Regions from separate parts of the Homo sapiens genome. Here region 2 is linked to region 1. Evidence: promoter capture Hi-C in human tissues and cell types (Jung and others, 2019). All regions are on one chromosome and are shown on one strand. The core of a region is centred on a gene start or on the middle of the fragment in contact, and the rest is flanking DNA. Distances in the headings are between cores, read along the strand shown.

Region 1 (5,652 bases), core at 1,368-3,867:
CGGAGGCCCCGCCTTCTCTTGTCTTCCACTGGCTAGGCGAGACTCCCTTTTTTTCTCCTTCTTGGATGTGGATTGGATGACATTCTCCCGAGCTCCGCCTATCGGGAGGCCGGGCTGGAGTTTAAGTTGCTAGGATTTTTTTTTCGCGGAGGGAGGAGGGACGGTTCTTGCGGATGACGTGAGGCGCAAGGTCCCGCCCCCGCCTCTGATTGGTGGGGCGGGTAGCCCGGCCTCCTCCGGCGGAGAGAGCTGGGAGGGGAAGTCCACCCTTGCTCCCCGCCTCCCTCCGCTCTTGAGCGCGCTCCGCACATGTGTGAGGCCCGCCTAGCTCCTTCGAACTGCCCTCCCGCCCGGAAGTCCTAGGCTCGGCGCCCTTGGCGAGGGGGGCGGGGAGAGCCGAGAAGCCACACAAAGGTTCCACCGAGGCTCGAGACCTAGTAGCCTTCGGGGTGAAGCCAGGGGATTACAGTGCGGAGTGGATTTCGGGAGCGAAACTCCGGAGGTTCTGCTGGGTTTGAGATCTGCCTTTCGGGGCCGGGGCCAAGTACTAAAGTTCTAACCCTGTCGCTTGGCTATTTCCGTGCCCCTTGACTTCCCTGAGCTTAAGCTCGAGAACTCTGCAGACGCTGCAAGTGTCTGTTCTTTCCTAGGCATGGCAGCGGCTGTCCTTAGTTGGCTGTATCTGAGACTCTGACAACCTAGTGCCCTGGCCTGGGGCCCTTAGGCGAGATCTTAGCGCAGGTGGTACCCTGTGTTCACGGGAAGTCGTGGGCGGCCTAATGCTGGCTTGGGTTCTGAGTAGTTCTTGATACCATGGTGGGAATGCCCTGTGGTACTCAGTCTAGTGGTGGAAGGCGGCGCAAAGTTAAAAGTAGCCGTGGGTCAGTTCTGCTGGAGTGCCGCTTCCTCCTAACCTCCGAGCAGTTTGGCCCTGGGGTCGCTTCGTTGGTCTGACTTATTTTTAGAGCTCTGTCCTGGGGCAGGGCTTGGCTACTGGCGAGGCTGCTCCCACCTGTCGGCTACCCTTGGAGTTCACAATTCGCTGCTGTGGTTTCGCGGCTCGAAGCCATCGCTGGAGTCAGGCCCACCTGCTGCCAGAGCTCGTTCCTGGCCGTTTCCGCTGGATTGCAGAGGGAGGACAGTGTTGGACCTAGGCGTGGGTTCCCTGGGCGTGTCCCTTGGGGTCTTAGCTCTCTGGGAGGAGGGTTCTACTTATTCGGGAGAGCGGTAACAACGTAATCCCGTCACCTCTCCTGGCGCTGAGAGAGCGCCCCCCAAAGTAAGATCAGCGTCAGGCCCACGCCCTATTTGGTGAATAAATAAAAGCAAACTAGGAATTGAAAGCACTTTGTCTCACTGTGTGTTCGAGGCACTGTTACCTACACAGAGAGGGCACAGGAACTGCTATTAACACTCCCGGCCAAGGAGAAGGTGAACAGCCGTTATCTTATGTCCCCAACTACGGAAATTTTATCCATTCTCTGAGTGTGGCATGTCCCCAATGTTAATTTATGCCGTGGCCTGTTTTGGTGTTTTCCTCTCCTTTCTCAGTTCTGAGGATGCCTCCAGATCCACCCGGGAGATCGTGAGTACCTTGTGCCTCACGCTCCGCCTTCCGGAGGCTTGCCAGGGCGGTGGCTGTTAGAGCCCGCCTCTCTTTTGGTTATCTCCGCCCTCTTAGGACTGCATATTCAGCTCTAGGGAGTTTACTTCTCCGCCTAGGTCTCCAGACCTTAGTTCTGTACTCTACTTGGCTGAAAGGAGTTGCCAGCTGCTCCGGATATTTGTGTTTACAAGGACGCAGTGTGTAGAATGTAAACTGTAAAGATAACTGGACGGAAGGATGAGTTCTCATTCTCTCATTTTTTTTGTGAGGGAGTCCTCCATGGTGGGCTGCCTTTCCTTCAAATCCTAGGATGTGGAGTCTCCGCTGATGAGCTCCGCTCCCCCTCCTATCTCGGGCCCTGGAACTCCGAGCTTCAGTCTCTAGTGTAAACATTCCACAAAAGGACTGCTAAGGTTCAGCCTCCTCGCGCAGGGTGGAATTAGCTCCTTCCTAGACGGGCGCCCTGGCCAATGGAGGGTCCTACCAGCGCCAAGATATCCAATCCGACTCTTGGGGCGGGGCCTGGCCCGGCAGTGCGGTAGGCGGAGCCTGTTTCACTTACAGACATTTTACCCCACATCGGTTACTTACCTTACTGGGGCGGTGGGAGAGCCAGGGGTAGCCTTCCAATGCGATGACCAGCGGAGGCGGGAGCCAACTTGTTAGGCCTGTGGCTGAGACGCTGCAGGGCGGGTTATGTGGTGTCCTCCAATGAGACAGGAAGAGCTTCCCTGCTTCCTCCAATAGTGTTGGGGCTCGGGGGTGGGCTTCAGCAGTCCGTCTCCAATAGGCGGGGTTGAGTTAGGGAAGCTCCCCGCCAATAGGGGCGTGGAGAAGGAGAGCGGCTCCCCCTCCCCTACCAGTCGAGGGGGAAGGGGCGGGAAAATCATAAGACAGGCCTCGGTGGTTGGCTGAGTCTTTGACGGGCGGGTATTGCGTCCTGTATTGGAACGAAGCTGAGTCTTCCCTCTGCGGGGCGGGGTCGGGGGAGTGGGCGGGATTTCCCGGGTAACAGAGAAGCGGCCGCGGCGGTAGAGGCGGCGGAGACGGTTTCTCCATCTTCCCCCCTCCCCTTCCCCCCTCGGAGTTTCCCTCCCTCCCTCCCTCCCTCCTTCCCAGTCTGGGCACCGGAGCCTGTGACCGCTTCGTTAGTGGAGAGGTAGCTGGCAGTCCGCTTCGGCGGGCCTGTGCCCCGCGCCGTTCTCGGGGCCTCCCTGCTGAGCTCGCGGCTCACGCTGAGAGGGACACGCAGTGACGAGCGGCCGAAGCAGCTTTGCGGTGAGAGCACGCTGGGCCGGGGGCCGGGCGGGAGCCTGGTGGCGGGTAACGCCGGACTCGAGGGTGTGTATTTTGGGGGGGGGGGGCTGACCTCCTCGGCTTCCCGTAGAGCAGACGGGCGGGAGGTGTGTGGTTGTGTGAGGGGGGTGGGGGGCGGAGCGGGGTAGCTCTCCGCGCGGGAGGGGGAGGAGAGCGTAGTCCCGGTGCGCGCGGAGGGGGGCGGGCTCTCGCGCCGCCGCTCAGAGGCGGGGCCGGCGCGCGCGTGCGATTGTGGAGAAAGGGGCGGGGCCGGCTTCGCGCTGAGTGCAGTTTGCGGCCGACCACCCCCTCCCCTCCTCCTGGGGTGGGCGGGGCCTCGGGCTGGCGGCCGCGCTCTGGCCTGCTGGGGTCGGGGAGGGGTAGGGGGGGGTCTCCCGCGTGTAGATTCAGGGCGCGGCAGGGAGGGGGCGTGAAGTCTGAGTTCCTCCGCCTTCTTGGGATCCGGTTGGCCGGAGGGGCCGTACTGATCCGTGATGCCACTCCCCTTGGCCGTCCCCCCCTGCACCCCGCCCAGGCCCCGGGTTTCCGCCTCCTTGGCAATGAGGAGGTGCTAGGGAAAGCCCGCTGTCGGGTCTGGCTGGGAGTCTCGGCGCCTAGATCTGCCCCGCCCTATGTCTCCGTGGGGAGGGAGGGGCACCCGCCGACTGGGAGCTGTGGAGGTGTCAGGACTTACTCTTGTGGCTGGGTCATGCCTTCTGCCTGGGGGCACAAGGGCCCTGTGCCGGAGCTGCTTTCTCCGCTTTGCTCCATGCAGCGTGTCTGGCACCGTGCAGCCAGGAGAGTGGGAGCATGGTCACCCCCACTCCCCTCTTGGTTGTAACTATTGGGGCGAAGTGCCCAAGGTCCTCTTGTAGGAGCGTGCGTGGCTGGTGCTGGAACCCTAGATCCGCGGTGGTGATGGTAGGGGAGGGGCAGGGAGTCATCAGAGACTAGAAATGTGGCGGAGGGAAAACCTTCCCTGGGGTTCCCTTGATGTTCAGTTACCGTGGCTGTACGGGGCGGGGCTTCCTTTGAGCCAATGGGTGGTGGGTAGTAGACTTGGCGTCTGTTTCGGTGCGTTAGGACTTTAAACGAAGTTAGCCTTGAAAAGGCAGTGGAAGCTCCTCCTCTTTACAAGGCTGAGATTTATAACAGGAAAGTTTGGATTTACATTTTAATCTCAAAACTGGTCTGTTTATAAAGTAGGGTTTGTTTTTTTTTTTTAAGAACTCAGACTTTGAATAAAATACTCCGATATCTCTGACAGTTGTATTTTTGAATGCTTTCATTGTGCACATGGTTCTGCTATATAAACTTAGTTTCCTGGACGGGCGCGGTGGCTCATGCCTGTAATCCTAGCACTTTGGGAGGCCGAGGCAGGTGGATCACTTGAGGTCAGGAGTTCGAGACCAGCCAGGCTTACATGGCGAAACCCTGTTTCTACTAAAAATACAAAAAAAAGCTGGGCGTGGTGGCAAGCGCCTGTAATCCCAGCTACTGGGGAGGCTGAGGCAGGAGAATCACTTGAACCCGGGAGGCGAGGGTGCAGTGAGCCGAGATGGTGCCATTGCACTGTAGCCTGGGCGACAGGAGCAAAACTCCGCCTCAAAAAACAACCAAAAAAACTTGGTTTCCTAAAGAATTTGCTATTTAGGTAACTATAGGTGAAAAGTCTTTTCTTTTTTATTTTATGTACTTATGTTAGACCATCTAGACCACTTTCTATTTATACTCTACATAGTACAGTGTTGTTGCCCTTTTTATTTCAGAGGAGGGTGGAATTGTGGATCAGGGTAGCCTTCTGTATGTGACTTCTGTAGCGTTGCCCTCCAGCCTGTATTGGAGAGTTGCCTTAGGGCATTTCAGATTTAGATAGCAGAACCACATTAGATGAGGTTTTTGCTTTCACTTGATACATTATCTTTTCCTATTGAGAGAAATTATTTCAATGTTTTTCACATTTTTCATGAGAAAAATAAACATGGAACCAATGTTTATTTATGCAGTAATGTCTAAATGAGCCTCTGGTTAATTATCTGAAGTGAAATTCTAGATTTGTGCTTTGGTTAGTAGGGCCTGAGTGGTACCCTGTGCTATATTTATGTGAAAAGGGTAGGTGGGTCCTACCTTCTCTGCTAAGGAAGTTGCAAAAGCAATAGCATTTTAGTTTAGCAAATGATGGCTGTAATAGAATTGGTGGGGAGACAAAAAATCCAGGTGGTTTTTTCTGATGCCATAAACTGAGAGAGATAGTGGAGAACGATTGACCATTGAGGAAAATTTGGGCTACATATATAGTTCCCATGATTTGCAGTGCTGTATACTGGGGAACACAGAAGAGTCTATAAGGATTCAAGTAAGAACCTGGTTTTGCTGTATTAGGAACATTTTCATAAATGCTTCATAATCTCCAGATAATTATTTTATATACTATAATTTTGTTCAGAGATAAATAGCTTAGAAAGATTGGCACTTCGTAATTAAGAGGGTTTTAATAATTTACATACAGAGAAAGACTTTTTTTCTTTTTTAAGGAAGGAGGTGTGTAGTAATTTGACAAGATTCCTGGTGAAGTATAATTCTTTTTACATCTTCAGTGGGAGCAGACAAGACACTGGAGAGCTGTGCATGGCAGATGTTAGTACCTGGGAATTTTAACTGGAATTAAGAGGTTATATCCCTGGCATTCAGTAGTTTAGCATAGTGCTTTTCATGGCTTTCTCTCTTTTCTGGGCAATCCACCAGCCAAG
Region 2 (5,652 bases), core at 2,328-4,827, 680 kb after region 1:
CAGGCTGGAGTGTAGTAGAGCGATCTTGGCTCCCTGCAAGCTCCATCTCCCAGGTTCAAGTGATTCTCCTGCCTTAGCCTCCTGAGTAGCTGGGACTACAGGCGTGTGCCACTATGCCTGGCTAATTTTTGTATTTTCAGTAGAGATGGGGTTTCACCATGTTGGCCGGGCTGGTCTTGAGAAATCCTGACCTCAAGTGATCCACCTGCCTCGCCCTCCCAAAGTGCTGGGATTACGGTGTGAGCCACCGAACCCAGGGCCGATCCTTTTTTTTTTTTTCTGAGACAGGGTCTTGCTCTGTCACCCAGGCTGGAGTACAGTGGTGCGATATCAGCTCACTGCAACCTCTGCCTCCTGGGCTCAAGCAATCCTCCTACCTCATCCTCCCGAGTAGCTGGGACTACAGGTGCATGCCACCACGCCCAGCTAATTTTTGTATTTTTAGTAGAGACGGGGTTTCACCATGTTGGCCGGGATCGTCTCGATCTCTTGACCTCATGATCTGTCTGTGTTGGCCTCCCAAAGTGTTGGGATTACAGGAGTGAGCCACCGCGCCCAGCCTGGGGCCAGTTCTTATCCCCTAAAGATTCCCACCCTCACCCCGCAGCCAGGTTGCCTCCTGCAGCCTGCAGCCCTCAGCGACTCCAAGTCCTCTGCAGCTGGTGGTGTAGCCAGCTCTCAATGCCTGTCTCCACCAAGTGACCAGCCAGCAGTGTGTTTGGCAGCTCACTGAGGAGGCCCACCAGGTGGGCTGCTGGGAGCCAGCCCCTTGCGTGGGGCCTGGCGCGGGTGCTGACACCCACCTCCACCCCCCGCTTTGCTGAATGAGTGAGGATAGATGTTGGGGAGACAGGACCAAAGCTTGGGATGAGTCAGGCCGGCTAGGGCCAGGATGTGTGACTGGGGCCCAGGGAGATGATGTTTGCTGGCAGTGCCCTGTTCCAGCCGCACTGGAGCCCTTACTTTCCCTGGGTGACTGCCCTATTCCCAGCTTGGTTCTCTGTCTTTGTGAGCGGGGCATTTATTTTCTGCTAATGTTAGCTGGAGGTCAGTCTCTGTTGTTTGTGACTTAGAAGCCTGACTGGTGCCCCCTGACCCCACCCCCATCATGGCGGGTGGGAAGATGAGGTCAGGTCTTGCGTTTGAAGTGCCAGATTCACAGCAATTAGACAAAGGCCATTGTCTTCCCTTGCACTCTGGGTGATTACTCGCCTCCTGCCTCTTTCAGAATCTAGAATTCAGGCCTGGCTTGGTGGCTCACGCCTGTAATCCCAGCACTTTGGGAGGCCGAGGTGGGCGGATCACTTGAGCTCAGGAGTTTAAGACCAGCCTGGCCAACGTGGTGAAACCCTGTCTCTACTAAAAATACAAAAAATTAGCCAGGCGTGATAGTGCACGCCTGTAGTCCCAGCTACTCAGAGACTGAGGCAGGAAAATCGCTTGAACCCAGGAGGTGGAGGTTGCAGTGAGCGGAGATTATGCCACTGCACTCCAGCCTGGGCGACAGAGCGAGACTCCATCTCAAAAAAAAAGAGAAAATCTAGAATCCAGTCTGGTCTCTGGTGGCGCTGGGCTGTTGGTCTACTCGGGTCTGAGGGGGAACAGCGCCTCCTGGTGGCCACAACACAGAGCTCAAGGGGAAGGAATGAGAGAGCGACAGAGAGGCAGGCAAGGTCACACTGCCCTGTCGGGCAGGCTCAGAGGCACGCCTGGAGAGCAGGCGCATGTCTGCTCTGGGAAAGATGAGCCGTTTGGCTCCTGGGAGGACCATGTCCCAGGCTTACCTAGGGCTGGAGCCAGAGCTGACTGTTCCCGATTGCGAGCATCACAGGGCAGGTCCTGGGTGGATGAGGGCAGGGAGCTGGAAGGGGCCCCATTTGGCTGTGGAATAACTTTTCTAGAGGAGGTGCTGGGGGGTGGGTGAGCCAGATCAGCATATGGCTGCTGGGACCCCACAGGGCCCCCTACCGTGGGCTGCTCCCTGATTTGAAGGCCACCACCACGCTGGCCCCTGGGGATCCTGGATTGGCCTCAGTGTTGCTGACATCCTCAGATTTTCCTGAGTAATAAGAGCAAAGTGAGGACAGGTAGGAAGGCACACTTTGTTGAACACCTACTGTGTGCTGGGTGTTTGCACATTTGCTCTCATTTGATCATCTTCCTTCAAGGAAAACAGTAGCATCTAGATCTTAACTGTAGGGCAAGGGAGACCCACAGAGGGTGATTTACAGAACCACCCCAGAGCCTGAACTCTTTTTCCTGCCCCATGAGGAGGTCACCAGATGGCAGCTGCAGAGACCCCAGGCCCCAGGTCCTAGGTTTGCTCGGCAGTGAAGGGCTGCAAGTTGGGGGAGATGTTTGCCTTCTGCCTGCCAGCCCTCCATGTAGACCTTCAGAAGCTTCTGGTGCAGGGACCATCTCCTGCTGGACATGGTTGGGGTAGGAGGGTCTGGTTGCAACAGTCCTGGACCTTGAGGTGGGAGGCAGAGATAGGGCACAGGTGGAGGCAGGGCCAGGAAGGAGGAGCATGACATAGCAGGCTGGGGTCAAACTCCTGACTTCACAGTCTGCCCTGAGCCTTCTCCGCAGCTTTTGGCTTGGTCCAGGCCCTTTGAGGGGAATGCCAAGTTGGAGTGTCATGTGTTGCCCCAGTCACTTCTGCATGGGCTCCAAGAGCCACCAGCAAGCTTGAGGCCAGATCCAACTCCGCAAATGACTAGAGGTGTCATCCTGGGCAAGTGACCTCCTGCGCCTCTGTCCCCATCTGCCCAGTGGGCATTAGCACATCGCTATCACAGCGAGCTTTAAGGACTAAGTGGGACAAAGTGCCAGGAGGGACCTGGCATGGAGCAGGTGCTCGGGGAACTTCGGCTGATTCTCAAGTGAAAGCAGAAGCAAGGGGGCAGCTGGACTGCAGCCATCTCCAAGATCCTGGAATTTAATCCCTTTGAATATAAGATCCCTGAGAAGAGGCAGGTGGAGGTGTAGGTCCGTGAAGAACTGGCCGCTCTCATCCCTGTGCCTTTGGCACACCTGCAACCCTCGTTTTCTCACCTGTTGCTCCAGCTAAGTGAGCAATGTGAGAGTCCCAGGAGGTTACAAATGGATCTGCACCATCAGTGTTCCCAGTGCCCCAGCACAGAAAATATAATGAATCAGCCTTGAGGGTAGTGAGCTCTCTGTTCTTAAAAGTATGAGAACAGAAGTTGAACTCCTGGCAGGGAGTTAGATGAGGAATTGGTGTTTTTTTTGTTTTGTTTTGTTTTTTTGAGATGGAGTCTTGCTCTGTCACCCTGCCTGGAGTGTAGTGGCGTGATCTTGGCTCACTGCAACCTCTGCCTCCTGGGTTCAAGCGATTCTCCTGCCTCAGCCTACTGAGTAGCTGGGATTAAAGGTGCCTGCCACCATACCTGGCTATTTTTTTTTTTTTTTTTTGTAGTTTTAGTAGAGACGGGGTTTTACCCTGTTGGCCAGGCTGGCCTCGAACTCCTGACCTCATGTGATCAGCTCGCCTCAGCCTCCCAAAGTGCTGGGATTATAGGTGTGAGCCAGCACGCCTGGCCTGCACGAGGAATTTCTACTCCAGGTGGGTCTATGAGGACCAGGCTGGGGAATGAGAGGAAGTGGGGGGCTGTCCTCTGGCCACTCTTAGTGGCTTCTCTAGAATTTCTGCATAGGACTGACTTGAGACTTGTCTTGAAGTTGTATTTGCAAAACAAAGTCGCTTATTCCTTAGGTTGCCTTTTTATTTGGGGTGGGGTCCCCAAGACAGTGGGTAAAGGCTAGCAGCTATGAGAAACATGTGTTTCTCTAACTGCCCACGAGGGGGCAGCCTACACTGCATTTTCGGCTCCAGTTCTTGGCTGGGGAGAGTGACGCGGGCAGATCCTGACATGAGGACAGGGCTGGGGGCTGATGGATTGGGAAGAATTGGGCATCAGATGGGTGTGGGGCGGGGGCTATTCTTCTCCCCATAGATCACAAGCCCGACTTTTTTGGGGTTAGGAGGAACAGGCAAGGTGGGAAGCTTTCCTTTCAACAGTGAATCCTGCCACTGGAAAAATTTAGTAGAATTTGAAGACCACGGTTGTAGCAAGCGTCCAGGAAGCGTTTCAGCTCGACATTTCGGGACAGATTCCTGCCTCTCCGGGGCAAGGAGCACGTGACAGCATGGCTGCTGGGAGGAAGGGAGCCCCGCACATTGTGCACATGTACCCTAAAACTTAAAGTATAAATAAATAAATAAATAAATAAATAAATAAATAAATAAAAGAAAAGCCCCCAGAGGGCGGCCCTGAGCTCACATAGGACAGTTAAGCAGGGGACTTGAGGCACGGTGGTGAGCTGGAGCTCCTCTGTCATCCCCTGGGTGGGAGGAACCTGGTGCTGGCTTGTGTGTAGTGCGTATCTACCCACTTCAGCCTCCCAAAGTGCTGGGATTACAGGCTCATTGCAGAGCTCCTGGCCTTTTCCCCGGGCAGCCACTCGCAGCAGGCCCAGTGACATCCTGGGTGGATGAGGGCAGGGAACCGAGAGCGGCTGGAGGGGAAGGAGATGGGATAGGACCATTTCTGGAAAGAATGGGTGGATTGGTCACTCAGAGAACAGCAGAACCCAGCCCTTCCAGGAACCATCCCCAGAAGCCCCTTCTGGCTCTGGATGGGCTTTTCTAGATGGGGTGCTACAGGGGTGAGCCCGATGTATATGTGGCTGCCAGGACTCCCCACAGTCCCCTGAGTCTGAGCCCCTGTGCATCCGCAGCTTATGCATGTAGCATTATCAGCGCAGGATGCTCACACTGGTTTAGCACAGTGCGCCTGTAGGCACCGGGAAGTTCTGACTCTCCCTTGGAGTGGGGCCTGGAGCCCCTCTCTGGGTGAGGGGATGGCCTCACCTCTCTCTGGGTGAGAAGGCAGCCCCTTCTCAAACTCATCGGGTGCATCCCTGGGGACACAGGGCAGAAAGACCCATGACCCCCTTTGGGCTCCAAGTTGGGGGTGCAGGGCAGAGGCCAGAGAGCTCAGCCAGAGCCTAGCAGACCCCAGGCGGGCAAGGAGGAAATTATACCGAGTCCCACCCACTGCCTGTTTGCCCAGCTGCAGGGGAGCCTGGCAGGAGCCAGGATAGGATTCTGCAGCCCTGGGGCAGCAGGGACTAGGAGGGGACTGGCCTGGCAGAATGAAGGCTGGGTTTTCAGCCTTGCCCGTACACCACCTTCCTGGAAAGAAGACCTTCTTCCCAGGAAAAGAAAAGCCCCCGGAGGGTGGCCCTTTCCTTCCCGTCCTGGTCTTTACAATCTTGCAAAAGGTCCCCAAATGCATACCTGAAATACCTCTGAGTTCATAGAGCCAAAAAGATCTAGGTTTCAGTTCTGGCTCTTCTGCTTTCCTGAAGAAGCCATCTTCCCTCTCTGAACCTCTGTCTCTCCATCTCTAAATTTGGGTTATTTCACAGGTGAGGCTATGCCTTTCCTAAGAGGGGTGATAATTTGCCTTCAAGCACACAGTAACCCCTTTCCTGCCTCAGGACCTTTGCACAGGTTGGTCCCTCTGCCTAGAACTCTTTTTCCTCTTTTTTTTTTTTTTGATTTTTTATTTTTTGAAGCAAAGTATCGCTCTATCTCCCAGGCTGGAGTGCAGTGGTCCGATCTCG

Evidence for each region. The method cuts DNA at HindIII sites, captures the fragments that hold promoters and counts their contacts. A contact is called where the count stands out against the background at its distance.
Region 2: a contact is called between a fragment that was not itself captured here and the fragment with the promoter of SIN3A in region 1, in 1 of the 25 tissues and cell types used here (spleen).

What each region holds. Positions count from the first base shown.
Region 1 is chr15:75,448,655-75,454,306 of GRCh38, reverse strand. It overlaps SIN3A (SIN3 transcription regulator family member A), which reads left to right and starts at 2,617. Exons shown (of 21, transcript NM_001145358.2): 1 at 2,617-2,884. RefSeq lists enhancers at 23-122, 1,202-1,733, 1,963-2,012, 3,723-3,852, 3,280-4,199 and 3 more and silencers at 2,653-2,752, 2,973-3,472. The HindIII fragment of the contact is 10,283 bases long and covers 1-5,652 here.
Region 2 is chr15:74,767,204-74,772,855 of GRCh38, reverse strand. No RefSeq gene overlaps it. Among named protein-coding and RNA genes, the nearest start is that of CSK, 12 kb to the left of the region's middle. RefSeq lists enhancers at 151-864, 865-1,580, 4,745-5,522. The HindIII fragment of the contact is 3,893 bases long and covers 1,631-5,523 here.